Linked DNA regions of Homo sapiens: regions 1 and 2 are each linked to region 3. Evidence: promoter capture Hi-C in human tissues and cell types (Jung and others, 2019). All regions are on one chromosome and are shown on one strand. Each heading gives the region's core, a stretch centred on a gene start or on the middle of the fragment in contact. The rest is flanking DNA. Distances are from core to core; before and after follow the strand shown.

Evidence for each region. The method cuts DNA at HindIII sites, captures the fragments that hold promoters and counts their contacts. A contact is called where the count stands out against the background at its distance.
Region 1: a contact is called between a fragment that was not itself captured here and the fragment with the promoter of CEBPE in region 3, in 1 of the 25 tissues and cell types used here (mesenchymal stem cells).
Region 2: a fragment that was not itself captured here is called in contact with the fragment with the promoter of CEBPE in region 3 in 3 of the 25 tissues and cell types used here (dorsolateral prefrontal cortex, mesenchymal stem cells and thymus).

Annotation. Positions count from the first base shown.
Region 1 is chr14:23,250,239-23,253,916 of GRCh38, forward strand. All of the region lies in intron 4 of RNF212B (ring finger protein 212B), which reads left to right. Among named protein-coding and RNA genes, the nearest start is that of RNF212B, 14 kb to the left of the region's middle. RefSeq lists a silencer at 1,842-2,136. The HindIII fragment of the contact is 5,432 bases long and covers 1-3,678 here.
Region 2 is chr14:22,948,731-22,952,427 of GRCh38, forward strand. It overlaps HAUS4 (HAUS augmin like complex subunit 4), which reads right to left. Exons shown (of 10, transcript NM_001166269.2): 4 at 3,598-3,697; 5 at 2,825-2,959; 6 at 1,584-1,680. The region is part of intron 2 of PRMT5-DT (PRMT5 divergent transcript); the gene reads left to right. Among named protein-coding and RNA genes, the nearest start is that of MIR4707, 6.4 kb to the right of the region's middle. The HindIII fragment of the contact is 5,650 bases long and covers 1-3,697 here.
Region 3 is chr14:23,117,306-23,120,504 of GRCh38, forward strand. CEBPE (CCAAT enhancer binding protein epsilon) reads right to left here and starts at 1,950. Exons shown (of 2, transcript NM_001805.4): 1 at 1,277-1,950; 2 at 1-517. The coding sequence starts at 1,786. The coding sequence ends at 182. RefSeq lists enhancers at 2,589-2,668, 2,749-3,199. The HindIII fragment of the contact is 12,579 bases long and covers 1-3,199 here.

The sequences.
Region 1 (3,678 bases), core at 493-2,992, 130 kb after region 3:
GGAGGCTGAGGGGGTGGATCACTTGAGGTCAGGGGTTCAAGATCAGCCTGGCCAATATGGTAAAACCCTGTCTCTACTAAAAATACAAAAAATTAGCCAGGTGTCATGGTGGCGCGTGCCTGTAATGCCAGCTGCTTGGGAGGCTGAGGCATGAGAATTGCTTGAACCTGGGAGGCAGAGGTTGCAGTGAGCCTAGAATGTGCCACTGCACTCCAGCCTGGGTGACAGAGCGAGACTCTGTCTCAAAAAAAAAAAAAAAGACTGAATTAATAATTACCTCTTAATCATTATCTCTATATCTTGTAAGTACTTGTGTTCTGCGTATAACCTAGTGTTTTACTTATTAGTTCATGTGTCAGAATGTCTCTTCTACTAGACTGTGATAAGCTACTGTAAACCCGGAAAATCTGAGACAAGTCTCAGTTAATTTAGAAAGTTTATTTTGCCAAGATTGAGGACATGCGCCTCAGAAGGTTCAGACGACATGTGCCCAAGGTGGTCAGAGTACAGTTTGGTTTTATACATTTTAGGGAGACATGAGACATCAATCAACATATGTATGATGAACATTGGTTCGATCGGGAAAGGTGGGACAGCTCAAAGTGGGAAGGGGCTTCTAGGTCATAGGTAGATAAGAGACCAATGGTTGCCTTCTTTTGAGTTTCTGATTAGCCTCTCCAAAGGAGGCAATCAGATATGCATGTATCTCAGTGAGCAGAAGGGTGACTTTGAATAGAATGAAAGGCAGGTTTGCCCTGAGCATTTCCCAGCTTGGCTTTTCCCTTTAGCTTAGTGATTTGGGGGGTCCAACATATTTTCCTTTGACACTACTAAAAGACAAGAACCCATACTATTCATCTTAGCATTTCCAGTTCTTATGCCTGACGTAAAGTGTTCAGTAAAGGTTTGCTAAATGGAAAGATGAATAATATTTGCACTATATATTTTCTGCCCCTGTGTGAGATGTTTTCTGATACCAACCAGTTCTCTGACACCAACTAGGTATGCAACAATTCAATTCAATTCAATTCAATTCTAACACTAATTCCTAGAGTTTTAGTATCATACTTCACATGTTTAGGGCTCAGCCTCACAAGACTGCCCCGACTCTGGACACCAGCCACAAATGGGGTACCCAGGCTAAAATACTTCAGACTGGCCAACAACAAACTTGAGGATTCCCATGAACTTCCTCCTGCTCCCACAAGCTTCAATAATTTGCTAGAATGACTCACAGAACTCAGAAAAGTACTTTGTTTATTATTACCAGTTTATTATAAAAGATACAACATAGGGGCCAGGTGCAGTGGCTCACGCCTGTAATCCCAGCACTTTGGGAGGCTGAGGCGGGCAGATCACCTGAGGTCAGGAGTTCGAGACCAGCCTGGCCAACATGGTGAAACCCTGCCTCTACTAAAAATACCAAAAGTAGATGGGTGTGGTGGCGGGCGCCTGTAATCCCAGCTACTCTGGAGGCTGAAGCAGGAGAATCACTTGAACCTGGGAGGTGGAGGTTGCAGTGAGCCAAGATTGTGCCACCACACTCCAGTCTGGCAACAGAGTGAGACTCTGTCTCAAAAAAAAAAAGAAAGAAAGAAAACCATATATCATGGAAATAGCCAAATGGAAAAGATGCAAAGTATGTGAGGAGGGGTGCAGAGCTTCCATACCCTCTCCAGATGCACTACCCTCCCAGCACCTCCAAGTGTTCACCAACTTGGTAACTCTCTGAACCGCCTTGTTCAGGAGTTGTTATGAACGTTCCATTACATAGGCATGATTGATTAAAGAATTTGTCATTGGCGATTGAACTCAATCTCTAGCCCCTTTTCCCTCTCTGATTGTCAGGGGTTGGGGGGCGTGGGAAGAAAGGTTGGGACCCCAACCCTCTAAACAGTGTTTGGTTCCCCTGGCAACAAGTCCCCATTTTGATGCTACCTAGGACCCACCAAGAGTCACCTCATTAGCACACATTCAGGTATGGTTGAAAGGAGCTTGTTATGAATAACAAAAGATGCTCCTATCACTCAGGAAATGCCAAAGGTTTTAGTAACTCTGTGAGGAACCAGGGGCGAAGACCATATATGTATTTCTTACACCACACCCTGTTCAAAAGATCCCCCTCAAAATCAGCCCATTAAAAAAAAGTTTATTATGATTTCATCACATGTAATTTCAAATGTTTAAAAGAATATAATGATATGTATAATATAATTAATTTCTGAACCATATCAGGTTCATTGCCCAGTGCATGGCAAATTAGTACACCAAGACACTGGGTTGCAGCAGAGAAAGGGGTTTAATCATAAGACAGCTGAACAAGGAGATAGGAAACCTCAAATTTGCCTCCAGGAGGAGTTTGAGGCTAGAGGTTTTTAAAGGGTTGGACAGGTAGTAAGCCAAGGTGTGGGGATCATTGATTGGTTAAGGAATGCAGGTTGAAGTCATGAGAAGCGGGGATGAAGAAATTGCATTCTCATGCTGATTCAGTTCCTCTGTGGGGGTCTTTAGACTCACTGTTCCACTGGAATTCAGGATCTGAAAACTATCTTAAGCAACTTTTAAGCAAAAGCCTTATGATTCTAATGTCATATTCTATTTATGAGAACAATGAGGATGCAAATGGTCAGCATCTAGTGTGATGTGACTTTCGCAGCTAAAAGGAAGTGGGCCAAGTGCAGCCTGATTAATGCTTAATTATAACTATATTTCTGTCCAGAGCCAAGCATGTAATTCTTGTTAAACCCTATGAGGACGGTTTATTTTCATGCATCCATCACTCCACTTCAACAATTATCAGTGAATGGCCAGTTTTCCTCCATCCATACCTCTTGCCACCCCCACCCAGATTATTTTAAAGCCAAAACCAAATATTACGTCATTTCTATCTGTAAACATTTCAGTGTGTATCTCTAAAAGATAGGAACTTTTTTCTTAAATATAACCACATCATGCTAAAATAACAATTCCATAATATTATCAAATTATCAGTCCCCATTCACATTTCTCCAGTTGTCTCAGTTTTAAAATGTTCCCACATTTTGAATTGAGTTTCAATAAAGGTATATATTTCAGTTGGTTATTATGTCTCTTAAGTTTCTTTTACACTATAAGTTTTCTCTTGTTTCTTTTTAAGTTATTATTGAAGAAAATGGTCTTTTGTCTATAGAGTTGTTCACAGTGTGGATTTTGTTTATTGTACCTATGGAGTCATTTCATATGTTCCTCTGTCCTCTATTTCTTGTAAATTGTTAGGTAAGTTTAGGGTTTATCACCATCATTGGTTTGGGGGCGGGGAAAGGTGAGGCAAGACCACTTTATTCTAGTGTTGTATTCCACCAAGAGGTACTTAATGGTCTATGTCTCTTATTTTGTATGAGGGTAGCCATTGATGAACTTTGCAGAGATCCTTAATTCATTAGAAGTTGTAAAATTCCAATTCTGTCATCCTTTCTTATTTTTTTAGTTGGAGTACTTCTAAAGAGAAATGTCCTTTTATCAAGCAAATGATTATCCAGATATATAGTTCAAAAATACTAAGACTTGCTTGTAGATATTATGGAATGAGGGAGTTTCACAAAAGATAGATAAGGCAAACTAATAGGTTTTGAATGTCAAAGAGATCGTGAATTTACCAATATCTTTAAAGTGAATTTCTAAAACTTAGTGACTTATTTA
Region 2 (3,697 bases), core at 1,175-3,674, 170 kb before region 3:
TTCACTATATTGGCCAGGTTGGTCTCGAACGCCTGACCTCATGATCCACCTGCCTCGGCCTCCCAAAGTGATGGTATTACAGGCGTAAGCCACCGCGCCCGGCCCGGACCTTAATTCTTAAGTCATAGAAATGGTTTAAGGAGACCAAGTGTGGTAGCTCATGCCTGTAATCCCAGCACTTTGGGAGGCCAAGGCGGGCAGATCACCTGAGGTCAGGAGTTTGAGACCATCCTGGCCAACATGGTGAAAACCTGTCTCTACTAAAAATACAAAAAAATTAGCTGGGCAGGGTGGCAGGCGCCTGTAATCCCAGCTACTTGGGAGGCTGAGGCAGGAGAATTGCTTGAACCTCGGAGGCGAAGGTTGCAGTGAGCTGAGATCACGCCATTGCACTCCAGCCTGGGCGACAAGAATGAAACTCCGTCTCAAAAAAAAAAAAAAAAGAAATGGTTTAGGGAGGAAAGTTCAGACTCAGGTGTTAAGCTTTATTATTTTCGTAAAAATGATACACATTCAGGGCCAGGCACAGTGGCTCACGCCTGTAATCCCAGCACTTTGGGAGGCCAAGGTGGGTAGATCATGAGGTCAGGAGACTGAGACCATCCTGGCTAACACGGTGAAACCCCGTCTCTACTAAAAATACAAAAAATTAGCCAGGCGTGGTGGCGGGCACCTGTAGTCCCAGCTACTCGGGAGGCTGAGGCAGGAGAATGGCGTGAACCTAGGAGGTGGAGTTTGCAGTGAGGTGAGACTGCGCCACTGCACTCCAGCCTGGGGGACAGAGCGAGACTTCGTCTCAAAAAAAAAAAAAAAAAAAAAAGAGATACACATTCATTCAGGGTGGTCAGACTCAAATAAGAAAATCATTACACAGAAGCAAGTAAAAGCTGAAATATGAATACTACGTCTAGAAACACATTATTATAAACAGCTTGACATAAATGGTATTATACCCTCCAAGCTTATACAGAGAGTATAAGGTGTTCTATGAGTCTGAACTTTCCTCCCTAAACCATTCTGAACCTCCTGAGAGAACTCATCCTTCCCTGCAGCAGGAGGACACTCCCACTCAGTATCTTGCTGAATAAAAAGAGTCCTTACAAAGGTCCTTGTTTTGGCCGGGTGTGGTGGCTCACACCTGTAATCCCAGCACTTTGGGATGCCGAGGCAGGCGGATCACCTGAGGTTGGGAGTTCCAGACCAGCCTAATCAACATGGAGAAACCCCATCTCTACTAAAAATACAAAATTAGCCGAGCGGGGTGGCGCATGCCTGTAATCCCAGCTACTCGGGAGGCTGAGGCAGGAGAATCACTTGAATCTAGGAGGAGGAGCTTGCGGTGAACAGAAATGGCGCCATTGCACTCTAGCCTGGGCAACAGGAGCAAAACGCCATCTCAAAAAAAAAAAAAAACAAAAAAACAAAAAGTCCTTGTTTTTATTCTACCAGCAACAAAACAAATAAGCATCTCTGATGGTTCTAAACCTCTGTCCCAAATCTAAAATCAAAATATATTATTCTCAAAAGAGCAGACCAGGAACCCTGAAGTCCAGCTGTGAGCAGAACAGACAGCTAGCACTCACCTGAATTGGGATCATAGTAGCAGAGCAGAGTGAAACATTTCTTTTTGAGCTGCTCCTCTACTTCTTGCTGTAGCCGAGCCCTCATCCACACAAAATCCTACAGTCATAGAAGTAAAGGCAGAAATGCGAATAGACTGTAAAAACTAGGACGTCTCAGCCAATGAATACATGATGATAACCTCAATAATAGCCAAAGAAAATGCATCAAGAGACATCAGAGAGACTCATTTTTCACCTATCAAATTAGCGAAGAATAAAATGACTGTCAAGACCCCATGTTGGTGAGAACATGGGGGATCCAGGAGCCCTGAAAATACCTTTCTGGATAGCAGTTTGGCATTAGGTACCAATATTCTGTATGAGTATGCACTGACTCAGGAATCCCACTTTTAGCACCAGCATTACAGAAATAATCATACAAAGGTAAAGACACATATGAACCAGCATGTTCATCTCCCTGTGGTTTCTAACAGCAAAAATGTGGAAACAACCTTAATATCCACCAATAAGGTTAAGCAAATTATTCTACATCCATATAATAGAATCCTAGCAGAGATTTAAACTGATGACATAACACTAAGCACTATGTGCCTAGATACTTTGCTAACAGTGCTATAGAAGCTATCATCTTATTTACATTTATGTATTGACTTGAAAAGAAATCCAAAATATATTACATGAAAATAGACTGTACTTTTCTTTTTTTGAGACAGGGTCTCACTCTGTGCCCAGGCTGGAGTACAGTGGCATGATCACAGCTCACTACAGCCTTGACCTCCCACCCTCAAGTCATCCTCCTGCCTCTGTCTCCCGAGTAGCTGGGACTACAGGTGTGCACCACCAAACCTGGCTTTTGTTTTGTTTTTTTTTTGGTAGAGACGAGGTCTCACTATGTTGCCCAGGCTGGTCTTGAACTCCTGAACTCAAGTGATCCTCCCACCTCAGCCTCCCAAAGTGCTACGATTATAGGCGGAAGTCACTACACTCGGCCTTATACTCTCTATATAAGCATGAAGGGTATAATACCATTTATGTCAAGCTGTTTATAATAATATTGTGCTTCTAGATGCAGTATTTCAGCTTTTACTTGCTCCTGTGTAACGTTTTTCTTATTTGAGTCTGACCACCCTGAATGTGTATCATTTTTACAAAAACAATAAAGCTTGACAAAAAAAACATTTTAAAGATATGGGAGAAATTAAACCATTTCATTTATTTGGTTCCAATATCTCCCCGCCAACCTCTGAGAGTGGCATGAGTTCCAGAAGGTCCGCTTTCTCCAGCCCCAGCAGTGGAGGTATCTCCCTCTCCTGGCTAGGACCTAAGAGCCGCATCAGTTCAGTTACAAGCAGCCGCTGTTCAAGGGTCTCATGAAACTGAGAGAGAGAGAATAAAAAACAAAAAGAGGCAACTATAAAACTTCTCCCACTCCACCTCTTCCATCCTTATGAACCAGTTTTTCACATATTTTCAAAGTCCTCAAATATATCATCCCCCCTCAGATAACTCAGCTGCGAGTGACTTCTGTCAATGTTTCTATTACAAACTCTGATAACACATCCACTCCTTCCCCATAACTACAGTCCATTTCTCTTTTGACAAACCATTTCTCAAAGCTCCTACTTCCCCTAGATCACATCATCAGACAAAGCCACAGTTGGCCTGGTCATTCCTGTAACTGGTAACCAACCCCACCTCATTTCTTTCACCTCACTTTTTTTTGAGACTGAGTTTCGCTCTGTCACCCAGGCTGGAGTGCTGTGGCGCAATCTCGGCTCACTGCAATCTCCGCCTCCCAGGTTCAAGCGATTCTGCTGCCTCAGCCTCCCGAGTAGCTGGGATTACAGGCGTGTGCCACTGCACCTGGTTAATTTTTGTATTTTTAGTAGAGACGGGGTCTTACCATGTTGGCCAGGCTGGTCTCAAACTCTTGACCTCAAGTGATCAGCCTGCCTGGGGCTCCCAAAGTGCTGGGATTACAGGTGTTAGCCACCACGCCCAGCCTTTGCCTCACCTTTTTGTCCTCAGAAGTTACATTTGTGTCTTGTATCTTCACATAGTAGTCCACAAGCAACTCTTGAATGACTCTGTGTAAAATCTCAGACCTCAACCAT
Region 3 (3,199 bases), core at 700-3,199:
CCCAGTCACAGTGCAACTTTATTCAGCCATATAATCATTATGCTGGGTCCTGCCCTCTTTGCCACCCCGGTTGCCATTTATCCATGGTCTATGTCTCAGGGTTCTAGGCCCCCAGCAGGATGGGGGTCCGCAGAGTTAGGCCGTGCCAGGGAGCCTGGTGCCCACAATCCACCAGCCAGCCTCAGCTGCAACCCCCCACGCCCTTGATGAGGTTGGCCGCCTCAGGAATCTGGCGGAAGAGGTTGCGGAGGGTGTCTAGCTCCTGGGTGAGCTGCTCCACGCGGCTGCGGAGGCGCTCGTTCTCTGCCATGTACTCCAGCACCTTCTGCTGCGTCTCCAGAATGCGCCTCTTGGCCTTGTCTCGGCTCTTGCGCACGGCGATGTTGTTGCGCTCCCGCCTCAGCCGGTACTCAAGGCTATCTTTGTTCACTGCCTTCTTGCCCTTGTGTAAGGGGCCAGCCGGGGAGGGCGCCTTCAGGAGGGGACTGCAGGGGGGTGCGGCAGTGGCCAAAGGGGCCTGGAGGGGAAGGCACGGAGAGACGGAGAGGTGAGGGCTGGCCAGGAGGCAGAGCGGAGGCGGGGCGGGAATCTCGGCAGCCAGGGCACACTTGATGCGTCAAAGGAATACAGGACTCAGAGCCAGCTCCTGTCTCTCAGGTCAAAACTATCATCGCTCTGCTTCTGGGAGATGGTGACCCAGATGCACAGGGTCCTCTGCTTGAGACCAAAACTCCCTTTCATGTTCTCACACTTTCTTTCTTTCTTTTTTTGTAAAGATGGAGCCTTGCTATGTTGTCCAGGCTGGTCTCCAACCCCTGGCCTTAAGCGAACCTCCTGCTTTGGCCTCCCAAAGCGCTGGGATTACAGGCATGAGCCACGACACCCAGCCAATGCTCTCACACTTTCTGAGTACACTTTCCCTCAATCTGCCTTGAGTCTCCCGTTCTATGACCAGTAGACATTTCTCACAGAAGCAGGCGGCAGAGAAACAAGAGGAGGGGGCATGGTGAGCAGCAGAGAGGCTGGCGGTGGGGGCCTGAGATCAAGTAGGTCAGCTTGCCACAGGGGCTTTGGGTGGGGATTCAGGGTGGGAATGAATTCACAGAGAAGGAAAGGGAGGTCATGGTGGGGTGTGAACACAGAGGACTGTGGGTTGGGTCCATTTCACAGAGCGACACCAAGCACAGGCTCAGCAGCATGAGCCGGGGCACAGGGTCCTGTCCACACCAGCCTCTCCAGCCCCGGGCAGGAGGGAGGAGGGCTGGCCTGCTCTTACCTTGAGAACGCGCAGAGGCTGGCCGGGTGCTGCCAGAGTTGGGGGCAGGTGCATGGCTGTCTGCCCACAGTGTGCCACTTGGTACTGCAGGGGATTGTAGCTGCCTCGGCTGGCAGCTCGGCTGCCCTCTGGCCCCCGGGGCTCCTCCTTCACCGCCACAGCCCTGGGGTCGTAGCTCCCTGGGCTGCTGTAGATGCCAGGCCCCAGCGCCTTCCTGTCTGGGCCGAAGGTATGTGGAGGGTAGGCAAAGGGCCGAGGGTCAGGCGGCAAGTAGTGGGGGAAGGCAGGGGTTCCGGGGCCCTTGAGGCCTCTGGCCTCAGGCGCTGGCTTCACGGCAAAGAGATCGGAGAGAAGCTGCTCTTCCCCAGACTCGATGTAGGCGGAGAGGTCAATGGAGGCCTCATGCTCACACATGTCCCCTAGCTCCCCGGGCCCAGCTCGGCCCCCTGAGAACTCGAGTGGCTGCTGGCCACCCCGGGGCTCACACTCGTAGTAGGTCCCGTGGGACATGGCCGGCCCGCCCCCTCGGCTCCCCGCCCCCACCTGCTCTTGAGGCACCCCTTGGGGTGCTCCGGCTGCCCTCTCTCTACCTCCTCCTGACCTGGGCCTGCCCTCTCTCGATCTTCTGCCCTAGACCTGCCCTCTGCAGTCTCCTCTGTCACCCACTCCTGTGTGGCCTCTCTCCCCCCTCTGCTCTGCTTCCTTTTCCTTCCTCTGTAGTCAATGCCTCTCTTCTCTTCCCTTTTTTCCCCTCTCTCCCCTTGGGGTGACTCAGGGAGGGGCAGGACACACCCCAGAGGGAGAGATGTAAGCCTTAGAGAAAGGCGACTCCTGGCCTATTCAGCAGTTGGGGACACTCCTTGGTCAGGGACCAAGCCAGGGTTCTGGAGATGCCCGAAGCTGATGCTTCTGGGAATGCCTCTCCACTCCCTGCTGGGAGGCCAGGGGACTCCAAATCCTCGCAGAGGGCAACACCCCACTCTGAGCAACCTCCTCCCTCCGACTTTGAAAAAGTTCTATGCAGAATGAGGTTCCAAGTTAGAGTGAAGAGAGAAAGCCCTCTTCCAGTGCCTACCCTCAGTTGGGTCTCACCTCCTCCCTTGACACGCCTTCCTCTGGCTCTCCCCTGCTGCTGGGCTCCACCTACCCCCAAGAGAAAGTTTCTTTTGTAGCCCCACCTCCCAGAGCATTCTCTGAGTGTAGGCCAGGGTTTGTTTTTTGAGGGGTCTAGGGAGTAGTGATAGGTCCTAGGAACAAGCTCTACACGCGAGCCTGCGTGGTGCTCCAGAGCATGCTCATTTGCTAGGTTTTTGCACAGGAGCTGTGCAATAGCCCACATGTTAGTGCGTTTCCAGCCCTAGCTACCTCTAGCAGCCTGGTACACTTCCTAACTCCCTGGGCTTGGCCAAAGCACCTGGTCAGGACTTGGGCCTTGCACCGCAGGCCTAGGCAGGTTGCTGCCCTCGGAGTAGACAGCCATAATCCTCCGGTGGCTCCAGCACTTCTCTCTTCCAGCTGCTCTGTGCTGCAAGAGGCTCAGGCTGGTGCTTCGCCCCTCACCCTGGGCCTGAGGCTCTGCCTCTGGTTTCCTGTGCCTGGGCTGCAGGGCTTAGGAGCTTGCTGCAGCTCGTTTGCTGTCTTTCCTTTTGCATGGCCGCTCTCTGATCTCCAATGCGTGTCTCTTGGGTCTACTTCCTCTTGTGAGGTTTGAGAAGCCTCTTATGTCATCACCTCTTCCTGGGGCTCTGTTTTAGGGTCTCCAGGAGAAGCCCATGGCTCCCTCTCTGCAATTCTTTGTTCTGTGCTGGCTCTCCTCTTCCCTTTTCTCTTTCCTTTGGGAACTCCCCACTACCTCCTTTCAGAGACACCTGCTCTGGTACTGCTTTTACCTGTTGAATTTCATCTCCAAAAGGGATTGTAGGT